2 separate regions of the Homo sapiens genome follow, and region 1 is linked to region 2. Evidence: promoter capture Hi-C in human tissues and cell types (Jung and others, 2019). All regions are on one chromosome and are shown on one strand. The core of a region is centred on a gene start or on the middle of the fragment in contact, and the rest is flanking DNA. Distances in the headings are between cores, read along the strand shown. Region 1 has its middle 6.0 kb from the start of TEX36-AS1. Region 2 holds the start of TEX36 (testis expressed 36).

The links. The method cuts DNA at HindIII sites, captures the fragments that hold promoters and counts their contacts. A contact is called where the count stands out against the background at its distance.
Region 1: a contact is called between a fragment that was not itself captured here and the fragment with the promoter of TEX36 in region 2, in 2 of the 25 tissues and cell types used here (mesendoderm cells and thymus).

The regions. Positions count from the first base shown.
Region 1 is chr10:125,579,020-125,581,719 of GRCh38, reverse strand. It overlaps a transcript of TEX36 not described here. Among named protein-coding and RNA genes, the nearest start is that of TEX36-AS1, 6.0 kb to the right of the region's middle. The HindIII fragment of the contact is 4,573 bases long and covers 1-2,700 here.
Region 2 is chr10:125,681,798-125,684,497 of GRCh38, reverse strand. It overlaps TEX36 (testis expressed 36), which reads left to right and starts at 1,335. Exons shown (of 4, transcript NM_001128202.3): 1 at 1,335-1,559. The coding sequence starts at 1,509. LOC283038 (a long non-coding RNA gene) reads right to left here and starts at 1,255. Exons shown (of 5, transcript NR_033848.1): 1 at 1,167-1,255. The HindIII fragment of the contact is 13,590 bases long and covers 1-2,700 here.

The DNA.
Region 1 (2,700 bases), core at 121-2,620, 100 kb after region 2:
GTTTCATGATTCTTTGTTTGAGAATGACAGGATTTAATTCAATTACTCAACCTTAGGGGGGAAAAAGGCAGAGACTGAACTGGCTTTAGGGATAATCCACAGACAGGCCATTCCTGATTAGTTTGGGTTCCCTAAAAGCTGACTCTGAGAGAAGTAGGTGAGTGCAGGTAGTTTACTTAAAAGGTGTTTCCAGAAAGTCCTTGTAAGGACCTGGGGGAAAAGTGGGACAGGAAATTGAGAATACCCAGGAGGATATGCCCGAGTGGGGAGTTACCCAGGAGGATGTGCCCGAGGGGCGAGTTACGCAGGAGGATGCGCCTGGGAGGATGAATTACCCAGGAAGATGTGCCTGAGTGGTGAGTTATGCTAGGGGCAACAGGGCCTTTCTGGTAGGGACCCTCTGAGAAGCCATCGCATCAGCATCAGCATCTTCTCGGTACTAGAATGGGAGGCTGGGGGTGTTTGTCAATCAACTCCCGTCCCCGACTGAGGGTTGCCCCTGGGAACCTAATCTCCCTGTTTAGGGTGTGCCTGGTTGCATCAGAGACAGAACAAGGTGGAGAAAGGCCTCAGGAAGAGGGGAAACATGTGGGGACTTGAGATGGGAGGGAAGCTGTCCCTAGGCTGCTGCTGCTAGAGAACTCAGGTGGGCCGGGGCTATGGAGTGGGCACCAACACCTTCTACTCTGAGCACAAATGTCCTTGGGACTCCTTTGTCTGTGTCTGCTGGTTTTTTCACTCTCTCTGACAGCAAGTGGGCTTTCTTCAGGTTGCTCCATCTCAGGCCACTCTGGGTTGAGGTCCTTAGAGATTATAGAGGACTCTTCCCTTCCAGCTCCAGGCAGGAAAGTCCCAGGAAAGGACTCTGATGGGCCTGGTTGTGTCATGTGACCATCCCTATGCCAATCATGGTAGTCAGGGTGATGGAAGATTATGATTGGGCCGGGATGGGTCATTTCCCTACCCCTGGTCAGAGGGATGGGGCCTGTAACTGGAAGCGGGAGGCTGAGGTCAGTAGAAGCTTGCACCCTTTCTGGTCATTGGACTTTGACCAGGACCAGCCAGCCCACCTAGCGGGCTTCAGTAATGTGGGCCCTTGGTGACAAGGGTTGGGGTCTGATCCCTTCCATCTCAGAAGCTTCTGGGACCTAAGTTTATGTTTTCTCTTTTCTTCCCTCCAGCAGTCTTCAAGCTCAAAAGTTTCTTTCCTCCCCTTTACCCCTCCAGGCACTGGGACAGGCAGGAAGCCACTTAAATCTCATAGCCCTGTCTAGCTGGTGTATTTTATGGTATTCTGGGAAAACTCTCCTCTTCCATTTATCAGGCATGAATAAAGTTGGAGAAAACCTTTTGACAAAGGGTACTACCACAAAAGAGCAAATGGAAAGTTTTTAAATATTTTTCACACCTTAGGGCACTTGACATTTTAGTTAGAGTCACGCTTTTGCTTTCCTGTACTAGAAATAAGACTTTCACTTGCCTGACTTTAATGAGTGTTAAAGGGATCCTTTCATGGTTTAAAGACAAGTCCAATGTGCAAGAAACTAGTGGTAAAAACCAAGCAGCCATTGGTTGGAGAGAAGCTGACACTCCAAAATATCCTCCTCCATGTCTAATAATACAGACCATGCCTTTTCAGAGCTGCATGTTCATTTATTCTTTTATTCAACTAATATTTATTAAGTACCCAACAGGTACTTTCTAAATCATGTTGACCAACATCTAACAACATTCTTGTTTTCAAGAAGCTTACTTCAAACTGGGGAGACTGTATTAGTCCATTCTCACATTGTGCTAAAGTACTACCTGAGACTAGGTAATTTATAAAGAAGGGAGGTTTAATTTCCTCACAGTTCCACAGGCTGTACAGGAAGCATGGCTGGGGAGGCCTCAGGAAACTTACAATCATGGTGGAATGTCAAGGGGAAGCAGGCATGTCTTACATGGCCAGAGAAGGAGGAAGAGAACAAAAGGGAAGGCGCCACACACTTTTAAACAACCAGGTCTCACGAGAATTCACTCACTATCATGAGAAAAGCAAGGAGGAAATCCACCCCCATGATCCAATCACCTCCCATCATGACCCTCCTCGAACAATGGAAATTACAATTCAACATGAAATTTGGGCAGGGACACAAATCCAAACCAAATCAGAGCAAGAAGATGGGCTTGAAGGAATGAGAAAGCAAGTGACATGATTTGACTGTGTCCCCACCCAAAATCTCATCTTGAATTGTAATCCAAATTGTAATCCCCACGTGTTGGGTGAGGGGCTTCATGGGAGGTGATTAGACCATGGAGGCAGTTCCCCCATGCTGTTCTCATGATAGTGAGTGAATTCTCATGAGACCTGGTGGTTTTATAAGGGGCTTTGCCCCCCTTCCCACTGCATTTTTCCTTCCTGCTGCCTTGTGAAGAAGGACGTGTTTGCTTCCTCTTTCACCATGATTGTAAGTTTCCTGAGGCCTTCTCAGCCATAAGGAACAGTGAATCAAGCCTCTTTTCTTTATAAAGTACCCAGTCTCAGGCAGTTTTTTATAGCAGCATGAGAACGGACTAATACGGCAAGCTTCTTTCCAAGAATGAGTGTGCCAGAAATGAAGTAAAGCAGAAGTTATTCAGGGAAGCCTCACCAAGGAAGGCATTTTTGAGTCAATATCTGACTAATCAGGAGTCCTTTCTGTAACGAGTTGGGGAGGA
Region 2 (2,700 bases), core at 86-2,585:
TCGTAATCAATATAGTGCGTCTTGGCAAGGCTGTGAGACGACAGAACTCCCTTGCACTGCTGCTGCTGGGAGTATTTCTTTACACCTGGGCTTTGGAGAGCAGTGGGCAATGCCTGGTAAAGGTGAAAAATAGTGTCTGTTGCACTGGGTTTGTCAGCAGGTAGCAGAAATCCTGGAAGGGTTTACTCCACACACAACAGTATTGCCTGGTACAGCAGCTCTGCAACACCAAAAGAGGTGGCCCACCACCTTTTCCTCCTCTCCTTACCATGTGGCTTTTGGCATCATAGTGCAAGAGGACCTGTGCATCTCCGGTGTCACATCTAAGGGCCACCTCTGGCCCTTCAGTGCTGGCAGTGGATAAGGTCCTCTATCACTACTACAGCAACTCTCCTTGGAAAACCTAGGAGGGTGACTGGAGGAGGAAAGGGTGGAGGACACAATTTCTGAGTGAGAGAGCAGCTGGACAGGTTGTCCTGCATGTGTTTACTCTCGTATTCACACGGAGTAGCCAAGAGAATTGGCAAGACACAACATTAAAAAAAAAAAGAAAGAAAGAAAAGCAGAAAACACCTTACTGAGTAGAAGGGAGGCAGGACGTGTGTGTCCAGGCCCCGAGAGAAACGCCAGATTTCACGAGCAGCCTTTGCAGCCCTGGGGATGCCAGGTGGCCCTTGGCAAGGCTCATGAGCTCTGGAGCTGGCCCATGACCTTGCTGGGACTTGTGGCATCCCATCCATTGCTGTATGTCCCTTGTTTCCTATTTGTAAATGTTGAAGGTTGTCGTGGAGAAAAAATAAAAACAGGTGAATGTTTAGTTTAGCACAGCACTTGGCATATAATAATTATTCATGAGTGTTACTTCCTCATGGTCTCAATGCTGTGCCAGGCAGGTAAGAGTGGCTGTGAGTGAGTCCTGAGGTTGGGTCCGAGCTGAGACACAGAGGCTGCCACAGAAGGAGATGGTAGGCAGCGTGGGTCCTGGGTGCAGCAGTGCCACTGATGCAGACAAGGTCACCCCCAGCCTGGGACTCAACTTACTTCTCTGAAAACTAACAGGTTGGAACATACAGTTGCCAGGGGGACATGCAACTCAAACATTATTGGTTCAAAAATTGAGAGGGTACAAAATGTTTGCCATTACCCCCAAATCATCTTGTCCTTACCTGTCTGAGCTGACCACAGGGCTTCCTCAGCTGGGACCTGGTGGCTCTTTGCCTCTTACCCTGGGGAGTCACAGCTGCAAGGAACCAGTGGCAAGAATCCTCCGAGGGTTTAGAAGACTCCTTTGCCCATTGTGATGGGTGAGTTCCCATTCCATGACAACAATGGGCACCCGCACCTTCCCCTCCTGGAAGAGGCTGAGAAGTAAAGATCAGGAACAAGGAGGAGGAGGAGCTTCCCAGACGTGTAGAGCTTATGAAGTTTAGGAAGCAGCTTCCCAGACATGTAGAGCTTATGGAGAGGTGAGGGAGCCAATCTCAGCCACATTCAGCTTCCTGGAGAGAATGACCAAAGGGCGACGCTTCAACCCACCTTCAGACAAGGATGGGAGATGGGTAAGGAAGATGGTGGCCCCTGGTGCCTTTCTCATGCCACGTGGGTGTGGTCAACAGTCTGAGGAGTTCCAATCCTGCTTCTACTATTACTGAAGCATGACCTTTGACAAATCACTTCACTTTACTCAACCTCAGTTTCTTCATCTGTGACATGGGAATCCTCTAACACTCTTGCAAAGATTGAATGAAATAATGCATGTAAAATGCTCAGCACACTGGAACCTCGTGAATGTCCACTAAGCAGTCATTCCTGCTCTACTTTTTCTTTCTTCCTTAACATCTATTTTCTAACATACTACAGAACTTATTCTCTTATCTATGTTATTTTTCTCCCCTTGCTAGAATATAAGCTCCATGGAGCTGGGATTTTTGTCTATTTTATTCACTGATGTATCCCCAGTGCCTAGAACAGGATCTGGAGCATAGAAGGCACTCAATACATATGTGTTGAAGTAATTATATTATACTAGAAACCTCTAAACAAATTCTTGTTGGCTCCCAATCCAATTCCTTTAGCCCCTCCGGCCTATGAAATGAGAAGAGTCCAGGAATGCATCATTTACTCATCTTCATCACTTGAAAACTTTCCCTTTCCAGCTTCACGCTCTCCCCCAACTCTTGCTCTTCTGATGTCACTTACAGAGCCTGTGGGATTTTTCACTCTTCTACCATCTTCAGGAAACATTTGGGTCACTCCTAAGTGTGAGGTCTTAGCCTTGTCGGCCAAGCACTTCTCTCCTTTGCTCTTCAACATGTATATTTCATGGCCGACAAGCCTCAAGCCTTTCCCATTTCTGATTTCTACAATTCATTCACAAAAAGAATGTTAAGGGGAAATCACAGCAGTAGACTCGCAATGAGAAACATAATCAGAGAAAAACCTGACGTCGACTTCTTTTAGGGTAGCAACAGGTAAAAAATTGTTAAAATTTTAATTTGTTTCAAAGAAAAACAGAAAACACTTCAGCAAATTTGGGTCTGAAGGCTTTAAAAAACTGATCTACCCACTTGGATACAACCTTGGCTAAGCAGCTTAGTCTTTCTAAGTCTCAGTTTCTTTGTCTGTAAAATGGGAGCATAATGTACCAAGGGTAGAAGACCATGGTGGGGGATTCACGACTCATTAACAAGTGCTCAGTAC